Linked DNA regions of Homo sapiens: regions 1, 2 and 3 are each linked to region 4. The links are contacts of gene promoters, found by promoter capture Hi-C in human tissues and cell types (Jung and others, 2019). All regions are on one chromosome and are shown on one strand. The core of a region is centred on a gene start or on the middle of the fragment in contact, and the rest is flanking DNA. Distances in the headings are between cores, read along the strand shown. Region 1 overlaps MUC5B (mucin 5B, oligomeric mucus/gel-forming). Region 2 overlaps LINC01150 (long intergenic non-protein coding RNA 1150). Region 3 holds the start of TOLLIP (toll interacting protein). Region 4 holds the start of KRTAP5-5 (keratin associated protein 5-5).

The links. Contacts are between HindIII fragments. The study calls those that stand out against the background at their distance.
Region 1: a contact is called between a fragment that was not itself captured here and the fragment with the promoter of KRTAP5-5 in region 4, in 1 of the 25 tissues and cell types used here (spleen).
Region 2: a contact is called between a fragment that was not itself captured here and the fragment with the promoter of KRTAP5-5 in region 4, in 7 of the 25 tissues and cell types used here (adrenal gland, bladder, dorsolateral prefrontal cortex and 4 more).
Region 3: a contact is called between the fragment with the promoter of TOLLIP here and the fragment with the promoter of KRTAP5-5 in region 4, in 2 of the 25 tissues and cell types used here (lymphoblastoid cells and mesenchymal stem cells).

The regions. Positions count from the first base shown.
Region 1 is chr11:1,230,878-1,233,577 of GRCh38, reverse strand. It overlaps MUC5B (mucin 5B, oligomeric mucus/gel-forming), which reads right to left. Exons shown (of 49, transcript NM_002458.3): 13 at 2,573-2,642; 14 at 2,018-2,155; 15 at 1,418-1,582; 16 at 1,034-1,128; 17 at 808-934; 18 at 310-565. Among named protein-coding and RNA genes, the nearest start is that of MUC5B, 9.2 kb to the right of the region's middle. The HindIII fragment of the contact is 5,029 bases long and covers 1-2,700 here.
Region 2 is chr11:1,899,478-1,902,189 of GRCh38, reverse strand. All of the region lies in intron 1 of LINC01150 (long intergenic non-protein coding RNA 1150), which reads right to left. It also overlaps a transcript of PRR33 not described here. Among named protein-coding and RNA genes, the nearest start is that of LINC01150, 4.1 kb to the right of the region's middle. The HindIII fragment of the contact is 4,546 bases long and covers 1-2,712 here.
Region 3 is chr11:1,308,266-1,310,978 of GRCh38, reverse strand. It overlaps TOLLIP (toll interacting protein), which reads left to right and starts at 1,347. Exons shown (of 6, transcript NM_019009.4): 1 at 1,347-1,513. The coding sequence starts at 1,481. It overlaps TOLLIP-DT (TOLLIP divergent transcript), which reads right to left and starts at 1,271. Exons shown (of 1, transcript NR_029409.1): 1 at 272-1,271. RefSeq lists an enhancer at 190-951 and a silencer at 1,182-1,891. The HindIII fragment of the contact is 18,535 bases long and covers 1-2,713 here.
Region 4 is chr11:1,628,475-1,631,174 of GRCh38, reverse strand. It overlaps KRTAP5-5 (keratin associated protein 5-5), which reads right to left and starts at 1,400. Exons shown (of 1, transcript NM_001001480.3): 1 at 245-1,400. The coding sequence starts at 1,334. The coding sequence ends at 621. The HindIII fragment of the contact is 7,029 bases long and covers 1-2,700 here.

The DNA.
Region 1 (2,700 bases), core at 60-2,559, 400 kb after region 4:
CCTGGGGTTAGGAGCGGCCTTTGAGCCCAGGGTGGGAGTGGGGGCCACCCACCTTTCCTGGCAGGGGCTGCCATGTGGACCCAGCTGAGAACAGCCAGCAGGTGTCCTCCCAGGGCCACCTCCTCTCCTGGCCTCTTTCCCAGCTGGGAATTTTCTCTTCAGAATGTGCTGGGTCCACCCTGCCCCACTCTCCCCAGCCTGGCCCCTCATGTCTCAGAACCCTCGGGGGGAGGCACAGAAGCCTTCGGGGAGGGCGGGAAGTGGCTCTGAGGAGCACCTGGGGGGCCTGCTTTCCCCCCAGACCCTTACCACACGGCGCCCTCGTCGTGCACCACCTCTCCAGGAGCCAGCACGGTGCCGTGAGCGTAGCAGGGGCACTCCTGGGCGGGCACACAGGCGCCCGCGTCATTGAGGAAGGTGCCCGCGGGGCAGGTGCAGCCGTCCACAGGCACGAAGGAAACGCTGCAGGTGACGTCGGCCTCACTCAGGCCGCGGCAAGTGGGCTGGCAGGCATCCACCACGTAGGCGTAGCGCTGGGACTTGGGGCAGTTCTGCATGTACTTGGCTGTGGTCGGTGGGGCCAGGGGGGACAGGTCAGCGGCCGAGCAGCCTGGCCAGCCCCCATCTTCAACTCAGCATCCCCGTCTGTGACGTGGGGATCGCAAGGGCATGAGGTTCTTGCGAGGCTGGGATGAGGAAGTGCAAAGCTCTGGGCTGAGAACCGTGTGAGTGACGGCTGCTGCCGGCCAGGGTCCCCCGCACCCCCACGCGGTGTGGACACATCCCACCCCCAGCGTGGGCACTCACTGCAGACGCCGTCCCTCCAGTCGCTGAGCTGTACGCCCTTGGCGGCACAGGCGTGCACATAGGAGGACAGCGCGGCGCACAGGCAGTCCTCGCTCCGCTCACAGTTGCAGGTGTCAAACATGCAGTTCTGCGGAGGTGGGAGGCATCGGGGCGTCAGGGACCCCAGCCTGCCAGGGCTCCCCCACCCATCCTGCCCAGGCGTGGGGGTCTGGCCTCAGCCTCTCACCGAGTGGAAGGGCTTGGGGTTGATGATGGAGTGGCAGCGCGAGAAGGCACTGTTGGGATCGGTCAGGCGCGAGCACCAGTGCCGGGCGTAGTTCTCTGTGGGGAAGACCTGACCTCATCTCCACGCCCTGCCCCGAAGCCCACACCCCTGACACGCAGGCCTGCGACCCCCTCAGCCCGGGGAACAGTGAGTTGGAATTTGCGGCTCACCTGCTGCGCCTTGGGGGGTTCTGGCCGCCTGGCCCCAAGCACCTCCTCCTGATGCCTCCCACCTGCCTCCATGGGGTCCCCAATCCCACCCAGGGGTCCCCGTGGCCCAGGGGACAGGAAGGTGCTGGGTGGGACTTGAGCCTGGGGTGACTGTGGGGGTGGGGGCGAGGAGTACCATTCTCCACACTGAGGGAGCAGGGGTCCTCAAAGCTGTTCCTGGCATTGGCACAGGCAGCCTGGGCCTTCCAGGTGTTGGCGAAGGCTGCGCCCGTGGCCTCCACCACCCCGCTGAGGGCCGTGAAGTCGTCAGCCTGGTTCTGGTTGAAGTTCCCACACAGGCCTGGGGGCCAGGGTTGGGGGATGTCAGCGGCCACTGTTGGGCCCACCTGGCTCCTGGCCCCTGCCATCCCTCCAGGCACCACACAGGGTGGAACGGCTGGGAGCCCTGTCCCAGGATTCTGCTCCCAGAACCCTCTGCAGATAAGCCCTGGCGGGGGGCGCCCCTGTGCAGTCGGCCCCTGTGCAAAGCCAGCCCCTGTGCAAAGTCGGCCTGAGCCAGGGCAGGGCTGCCCGCTCCATCCTCCCAGCTGGCTGCTTCCGGGGCCGCTGGTCCAATGCTGGTGTCCTGCGCTGGCACCAGGATCTCCGCCATGCCCTGGGGGCAGCCCCCTCCCCGGTCCCCTGCCCGCCTCTGCCTGCCCCTCCCTGCAGCCTGGCGCTAGTCCAGGCCCCGTCCCCAATGGCCCTGTCCCCGAAGGCCCCTGCCCAGCCTCACCGCACATCTGGCCCTGGTGGGCGGGGTCCAGCCTGACAAACACCTGCATGAGTGGCACCAGCTGCACCAGCAGCTGCAGCCCCAGGCCTGTCTGCACCACGATGAAGAAGCTCGAGGGTGTGAACAGGGTGATGTTGGCTGCCGGGAGTGTGGGGGAGAGGCCGGTCAGGGGTGCAGGGACAGATCTGGCTAGATTGGAGGGGCAGGGCATCCAGTGGGCCGGGCCACCCCACTGAGACCCGGGAGTGAGACCCAGGAGTGGCCAGGAGCCCTCAGGCTCCCTGTCCCATGCCTGTGGCCGCCAAGTGGGCTCAGGTGGAGACCGGGCTCCCTGAGAGAGTGGGGCTGAGCGAGCTGGATGTGGGGTCCCTGCCGCTGCCGGGGTGGGAGCCTGGCATCCCCACTCTGCAGACGAGAAACCGAGCACAGGGAGCTCCTGGAGCTGCCCGAGGCCACGGAGAACTAGCAGGGATGGAGCGGACGCTGCCCAGGCTGTGGGAGCTGCCCCTGCAAGCAGGCGCCACCCAGCCCGGCCGTCCTGGGAGAGCCACATACCTGCCGACAGGGGCAGCTGCGTGTAGATGGAGTTGAGGAACACGCCGCCGTCCGCTTGGACCCGGATGGCCTGCGGAAGGAGGCGGGCGGGAGGTCAGCTCTGGGGAGGAACCCATTCCCGACTCTCA
Region 2 (2,712 bases), core at 196-2,695, 270 kb before region 4:
CGCGATCTCTGCTCACTGCAAGCTCCGCCTCCCGGGTTCAGACCATTCTCCTGCCTCAGCCTCCCGAGTAGCTGGGACTACAGGCGCCCGCCACCACGCCCGGCTAACTTTTTGTATTTTTAGTAGAGACGGGATCTCACCATGTTAGCCAGGATGGTCTCGATCTCCTGACCTCATGATCCACCCGCCTCGGCCTCCCAAAGTGCTGGGATTACAGGCGTGAGCCACCGCGCCCGGCCATAATTGTGGTTTTTGCAATTACTTTTCAACCAGCCTAATAACTAAAATGCACCTTTCTGACATTCAACGGCTACCTTGAAACCATTTTGTGAAAGAAATTTACATCTCCACAAGACATTTCCATTTGCAACGTCTGGGAGGGACATCCCTTTGTTTTAAATTTACGTAACAAGTCTTACCTTTGTTTAACGTGTTTTTCCTGGCCATGTTGTCTTCACTGGGCCTTGCTTTTTTCTTGGTTGAGCAAATGATGATGGTACAGTATTTAAGCTGAAAGTCTCAGCTTAAATAGCTTTTCATATATACATTTTCTGCCTTGTTTCACCTAAGAGTTATCTTTTTTGAAGGCAAATTGTTCCCTAGCTAACGATTGCTTAGGATGATAAAACAAGTAATTAGAAGATTGATAGTCTAAAGGGGGAAAAGAAAACTATTTGAAAGCTGGCAAATGAAAATTCTTTCTGAAATCTGTAAGATCTGTTTCTATCTGTGTCTGTTATGACTATATGTCTCTCTGTATGACATGTATCTGATAATATTTAGGAAAAAGCTGAAACCACCTTTGCATTGTCTCTTTGACTGAGACGGTGAGAGACATCTAACTTAATTGACTCCATCTTGCCTTTTTTTTTTTTTAGAGGTGGTGTTTTGCTCTTGTCGCCCAGGCTGGAGTGCAATGGCGTAAACTTGGCTCACCACAACCTCTGCCTCCTGGGTTCAAGCGATTCTCCTGCCTCAGCCTCCCAAGTAACTGGGATTACAGGCATCTGCCACAACGCCCGACTAATTTTGTATTTTTTTTAGTAGAGATGAGGTTTCACCATATTGGCCAGGCTGGTCTGGAACTCCTGACCTTGTGATCTGCTCACCTCGGCCTCCCAAAGTGATGGGGTTACAGGCGTAAGCCACCGTGCCTGGCCCTTCCATCTTGCTTCTAACCTCCTTGCTTATTCCTGTCCTTGCTTATTCCTGGGAGTAGGCTGAACTAACTTTGGGAGAAACTTAGTTTATAGTTTAAAACAAAGACGATAACAGCCTTTCCCAGTGGAGAGAGCTACTAAGGGCCCCTATAGTATCCAAAAAAGAGAGAGACAGAAGTATTTGATAAATTAAATTACATGGGAAGCACTGCCAAATAAGAAATGATGTTTAACCTTATTTGAGATATTGTTTGTGAATACGTCATTAATATATGCTCCAAAATTGTATGGGGTTCCTAAAATTCTGATACATCCGGGTATATGCTGTCACTCTTAATTACAGTTAAGTTATTGTAGGCCACAGAAGTAATCAAAATTCCTTGTCAGTTCTTCTTTAACCATGACCATTTTACGTCATTTCCAGAGTTAATTGCTTTTTTCTGACGTTTCTGAAAACTCACAAACACACACAGTCCTACAATATTGAGTCCTCCAGGAGGTTCGTGAAAGGAGAGAAAGGACCCTGATAAGCCCTCTTGAATAGGCTTCTGATAACTTTAGTGTAATGTCATTTGGACTGGGTAAAAATTCCCGGAACTCTAATGGAAAGATTGACTGGTTTATAAAATTGCTAACCTGGGCAGGACAAAAATTAATTGAATACCAAGAAAACACTTTGCCAGCTTTTCATGCTAAATCAGCCAGTACTGATATTGTTTAGATACCCAATTTGAATTAAATCCATCGTCCAAGTCAAATTACCTATGATAACCCTTCTAATAAACAGTGCTATGCACCTGAACTGGAGAAACAAAATTGGTATTTAAGAAGATATAAGTCCAGCATCAAGCATGGACACATGGACAGCCAAGATGGCCACCTGGTCCTTCCTGTGTCCTTGAAGCTTCCACTATTAAATGCTCTGCACTCCATGATTCATCATGGAAGAGACAAATTAATCCAAATTTTATATATATATGTATATATAATATACATATATATATTTGACATGGTGACCGTTGTAAGTTGTTAAAATGGTTTACGACCAATGTTTGGTCTGCCAAACCCATAATCCTGGGAGGACAATCGAAACTTCCATTACACTTCTGCTACTTGATGGGCCATTGAAACATTGCTGGAGGGATTTCCTTCAATTGTCATTTTCAATGCGTGTTTTCTGGTTATATAGAAGCTTTCCCAGGCAAGAGCACTGATGTTATAGCAGTAGCTAAAAGATTATTAGAAAATTGTTTTTCTCATGGGACGTCCCTTGAGAAATCTCCCATGATAGATGTACTTGTTTCACTGCTCAAGTGGTAAAACTGTTAATAACTTGTTACAGATACAATAATATTAAGCAAGGGAAATGAATGAACTGGGCTGCCTTGGTCAAGGGTGTTGCAGGTGGATGGCCGTCGGGTCCATTTCCAGTGGAAAACATAAGTTGGTGCCTTATGAAATAGTCCCTGGAAGTCCTATATAGAACCTCATGTATCTTCCACTCCTCAACTCCGATATGGCTAAAGGCTCCTAGGCCTTAATGCATTATGCC
Region 3 (2,713 bases), core at 98-2,597, 320 kb after region 4:
CCCAAAGATGTGGTCTTTGGGATAAGAGGAAAGTGAGAGCACATGGTGTCCTGGATGGGGAGTGAAGAAAGCATGTGTAGCAAGAATGACTATCGATTTTGCTGTAGTTCCCGGAGGACGAGGACTGAGAACTGACCACTAACAATATAGAGATCACTGACAAAGAGTTTTTAGTGGAGTGGTTGTGTTACCGGAAAAGGGTCCTGATCCAGACCCCAAAAGAGGATTCGTGGATCTTGTGGAAGAAAGAATTCCAGGCCAGTCCACAGAGTAAAGTGAAAGCAAGTTTATTAAGGCAGTGAAGGAATAAAAGAATGGCTACTCCATAGAGCAGGGTGTTCCCAAAAGCACGAGGAGGAAGGCGTCCACCTGGGTACGCTTGTTTATATGTAAGATAAAAGCCAAAAAACATCACGGGGGAGACGTGCTGTACTACCTGGGCTCGTCAAAGGATTGCCAATCTTTGCATAACGCCTGTCCTCCGCAAGCATCTGTATCATTATCTTTAAAGCGAAACTTCAACTAAGAATGCTTCTTGTTCTTAAGATACCCGGACATCGGGACCTAAGTTCCGGGTCTGCTGCGTAAAAGTTTATTAACCTGTTCCCGTGACCGTAAACGCCCGACTCCTGGGGATGCAGCCAGCGGGGTTCAGCCTCAGTTTACCCAGCGCTGTTCGAGCTGGAGTCGCTCTGGTTGGAGCGCCTGACCGCGAGGGCCGAGGTCAGGCCGGACTGGGGTTCTCCGGAGCGAGCAGGAGAGGAGCGGGGCTCCTGCGGAGCGGCGCGGCGGGGAGGCCGAGGGCAGGGCGGGCTCGAGCTCGGGCTCTTCTGGCAGCGCCTCCATCCCCGTTCCGTTCACCCGGCAGCCGCCCCGTGGAGGAACCGCGCCCCATCTTTAGCCCTGTGAAACAGAAAGGCCCTTCCTCCGGCAGGCAGCTGAGGGAAAGATCGCCCTGCAGGGGATGTCGGGCCTGTCACTGCTTTGTTGCGGGCCACAGTTCCCTCCCTTCTCCGAGCGGGTCGCACGTCCGAAGGTCACCCCCGCCAGGTGGCTAGGCCCTGTCGCCACTCGACAGAGGACCGAGGAGGAACCAACCCACTGCCCAGACTGCAGCGCCGCCACGCTAGGGCCCGCGCCGACAACCGTCATGACTGGGCATGCGCAAACGGCCCCGCCGGGAGCCATTTCGCCGGGCTGCAGGGCTCGAGGAGAGAGCAGGTGCGCAGGCGCCGGGCGAGAGGCTGCGCCTGCCCTACCCTGGAGCGCGCGTGCGCGCGAGAGCCGGAAGGGGCGGTGCCTGGCGCGGCGCCTGCGCAGTGGGGCGGTGCCGGGGGCGGGGCGCGGCGGCTGTCAGCTGACTGTGGCGGCGGCGGCCTCGAGGTGACAACTGTCTCCGTCGCAGGCTCCGGCGGGGGCGCAGGAGGTCGCCCGGCGCGTCACTGTCGGGTCGGCGAGCCACGGGGGCCGCCGCAGCACCATGGCGACCACCGTCAGCACTCAGCGCGGGCCGGTGAGGCAGCCGGGCGAGGGTCGGGCGGGGGCGGTGACCTGCGGTTGCGGGCGGGGCCTTGGGTCAGGGCTACTGCTCAGCTGCGGCTGGCGGGCCGACTCCGCGGCTCTCCCGGGGCACGCGGGGCGCCTGGCCGGCCGGAGGGGAGCGGCGGCGTCCACACCTCGGGGCGGGGCGGGCCGGACGGACGCGCCCACGCTGCAGGAGGCTTGAGCTCACCGCCGTGCCGGGGCAGAGCTTTGGGGAGGCAGCCCCGGGGGAGGGGGCCTGCGCCCGTTGTGAGCCCCAGATGGAGGCGGGCCCCGTGCCCCATGGTGCCCCAGAGGGAGGCAGGCCCCGCTCCCCAATGGTCTCCAGATGGAGGAGGGCCCGGTGCCCAGATGGAGGCGGCCCCGAGCTCTGACTCCCGAATGGAGGAGGGCCCCGCACCCTAATGGTCCCCCAGGTGGAGGCGGGCCCTGAACCCTAATGGTCCCCTAGATGGATGCGGGCCCTGCTCCCTGATGGCCCCCCAGGTGGAGGCGGGTCCCGCACCCTGATGGCACCCTAGATGGAGGCGGGCCCCGCACCCTGATGGCCCCCCCAGGTGGAGGCGGGTCCCGCACCCTGATGGCCCCCCAGGTGGAGGCGGGCCTGCACTCTAGTTGGTCCCATAGATGATGGCTGTTTCCTCTTTCTCATTTACACAGAGTGAGGGCAGTGGTGACCACTTCTTGGGCCCAATTGTGTCCCCGGTTAGTGGCCACCGTGCAAAACCTCAGTTTCTTCATTTGCAAATGAGAGGATAGGCGCCAGGAACTTCAGAGAACCTTTCCTGCTCTGAATTCTCTCCTGAGAGTTGCCTGGCAGTTTCTTCTATAGCATTAATATTGCAGGAGAGCTGGTGTAGACTGACTCAGAGATGATGGGCTCCTGGCGTGAGTGGCCTCCTGGCTCACTGTTAGGGCCTTCTTGCATTGCTGTAAAGGAATACCGAGACTGGGTAATTTGTAAGAAAAGAGATTTAATTGGCTCCCGGTTCTGCAGGCTGTACAGGTAGCATGGTGCCGGCATCTGCTCCTGGGGAGGCCTCTGGAAGCTCCCAGTCATGGCGGAAGGCCAAGTGGGAGCTTACACGTCACATGGCGAAAGCAGCAAGAGAGTTGGGGGTGGGGAGGTGCCACACACTGTAATGACCAGATCTTGTGAGAACTCACTATC
Region 4 (2,700 bases), core at 151-2,650:
ACCTCTCCCCACATACCAGACTGTGAGCTTGGATTTACTCTGCTCTGTCATCTCTGGAGCCCAACACAACAAGGGGCCCAGAGCAGAAAGCTATAGACGTTAGTTCTGTGCATGAAGACATGGACCATGACATGAAAGATGCTGAGGGGAGAGAAATGGGAACAGGCCCAGGGGTGGAGGCAAGAAGATGGTGCTTCTGGGAATGAGAGAGAGGTGGGAAGGAGAGAACCACAAGACAGTGAGCTTTGTGCTTAGAGACTTTGTTTATTTAGAGGGTCAGGATTCAGTCTTGATATACAGACAGCCAGAGAGATTGAGGGTCGATCACACTCCTGAAAGAAGGAGCAGCTGTCAGGGTCTAAGGGGTCTGATCTGCCTCTGGGGCCTCAGTGGGCCGCTTTGGATCTTAAATGAGTGAGGAGCAGGGAGAGGAAGTTCAGGAGAAGTAGTAGGCAATGAGCCAGAAGGGGTCCTCAGTCAGTTTCGGGAGCACTGGTGTGGAGTGGATGAAGCCAGTGAGGACACAGTGGAGACAGTGGAGCACCAGAGAACCCAGGGCAAGGAAGCTGGGCAGCCGGGCCCTTCACCAGTCAGGCCACCTGCAGTCTGCAGTCAGAGCCTCAGATCTTACACTGGCAGCACACGGGGACACAGCAGCTGGACTGGCAGCAGCAGGGCTTGTAGCAGCTGGATTGGCAGCAGGATGATCCACAGCCTGAGAAGCAGCTACAGGGCTTACAGCAGCTGGACTGGCAGCAGTAGGGCTTACAGCAGCTGGACTGGCAGCAGTAAGGCTTACAGCAGCTGGACTGGCAGCAGGATGACCCACAGCCTGAGGAGCAGCAGCAGGGCTTGCAGCAGCTGGACTGGGAGCAGCCATAAGAACCACAGCCCCCCTTGGACCCCCCACAGGAGCCACAGCCCCCCTTGGACCCCCCACAGGAGCCACAGCCCCCCTTGGACCCCCCACAGGAGCCACAGCCCCCCTTGGACCCCCCACAGGAGCCACAGGCCCCCTTGGACACCCCACAGGAGACACAGCCTCTCTTGGAGCCCCCGCAAGAGCCACAGCCCCCTTTGCCACAGCTGGAGCAGGAACAAGCTGGCACACAGCAGCACATGGGCTTGCAGCAGCAGACAGGCACACAGCAGCCGGAGCCACATCCCCCACAGCCCGCACAGCCGGAGCCACAGCCCCCACAGCCTCCACAGCCGGAGCCACAGCCCCCACAGCCAGAGCCACAGCCTCCACAGCCGGAGCCACAGCCCCCACAGCCGGAGCCACGGCCTCCACAGCCGGAGCCACAGCCTCCGGAGCAGCCACAGCAGCCCATGGTTCTGGTGGATTGAGGGTGGAGCAGGTAGAGGAGCAGGTGAGAGGGAGGTGCAGGTGTGGAGCCCCCTGAGCCCGGGCTCTTTATATCCCTGTCCAGGGTCAGGTGAGAGGCTGGGCACACTGTCACTTCCTGGTTCCTGCTTGTGCCACTGGTCCCAGTATTCTCTTCTGCTTTACATTTTTATAAATAACTCCTGTTTTCCTCGCACTTTTCTCGAATGTGCTGTCAGGTCTGTGATGGAAGCGGCCCCTCAGTAAACACTGGCCCCGCGGTGAGTTTCCCTTTCCATGTGACAAGAAGGAAGCGATGGGCAGGCAGTGGCTCGCTCAGAGGCCTTGGTCTTGCCGAGGGTGATTTTGAGCCCAGGACTCCTGGCTTGCTCCCGGGAAGATTCCTCTGCGGGAGCATCGTGTCTTGCTTGGGACGTGCCTAGGCCCTACACCTTCACGGTCCACAGCAGCTCCTGGCCCGCGGGCTGTTTCCAAGGGTCCCAGGACCTGGGGCTTCAGCCCTCAGCTCAGCAGGGTCGTTTTCGGTGTAAGACTTTGTTGGAAGGTTTGCAGTGTTGACTGAGACGGGGATTTTAAGCGCTTATTCTGGAGCTTGCTGCGTGCTCCCCATGGAAAGTGTTCTCCTGTGATAACCGCGGTCTCTTCCAGGGCTTTCAGACCACTCGGGTGGCAGGGCTGACAGATACAGTACAGGATGCCTGCTGGAACTTGAATTTCAGATCATCGAAGGCTGCCTTTTGAGGAAGGAAATCCAAGCATTGCAAGGGGCAGACACTGCCTCTGCGCTGGGTCAGGACCCAGATCGCATTGTCTCCTGCAGCGGTTCCTCCTGCCGCCGCACGGTGTCGCTGTGAAGCGGGTTCCCCCACTGCGTGGCCGGCCCAGGGGCTCCCGGACAGCGGCACAGGCTGATGGCAGAGGCCCTTTCAGGGCCAGTGAGCGGAAGAGGATGCCCTGTCTGGGTGCCCGCCTGCTCCGGGTCCCGGGCTCAGCCTGGGAAGCAGCAACTACATTCGGGTGCAGGCCCACTGGATGCTAAAGAAAGCCGGTGGAGAGCAGGGAACCGGATGGCCATTTGCCCCCGTGACCACAATACCTGTGAGTGCCCCGAGCCCAGTCAACAGGCCTCAGGCCACGGTGTAAACACCAGCTGGCACTCGGTGACTCTTGCCGTGTATGCTGGAGCCCCACTCTGTTCTGGGGCAGGGGACTGTATCTCAGGGAGGAACAGAAAACCCATTAGGAGAGAGCCGCCTTGTGTTGGCTGTCCCCACCAGAGGCGGCATCCTCCAGCTCTGGAACAGAGGCAACAGATACATTTGCTTCCTGATACATTCGCATCCAGCGCCTGA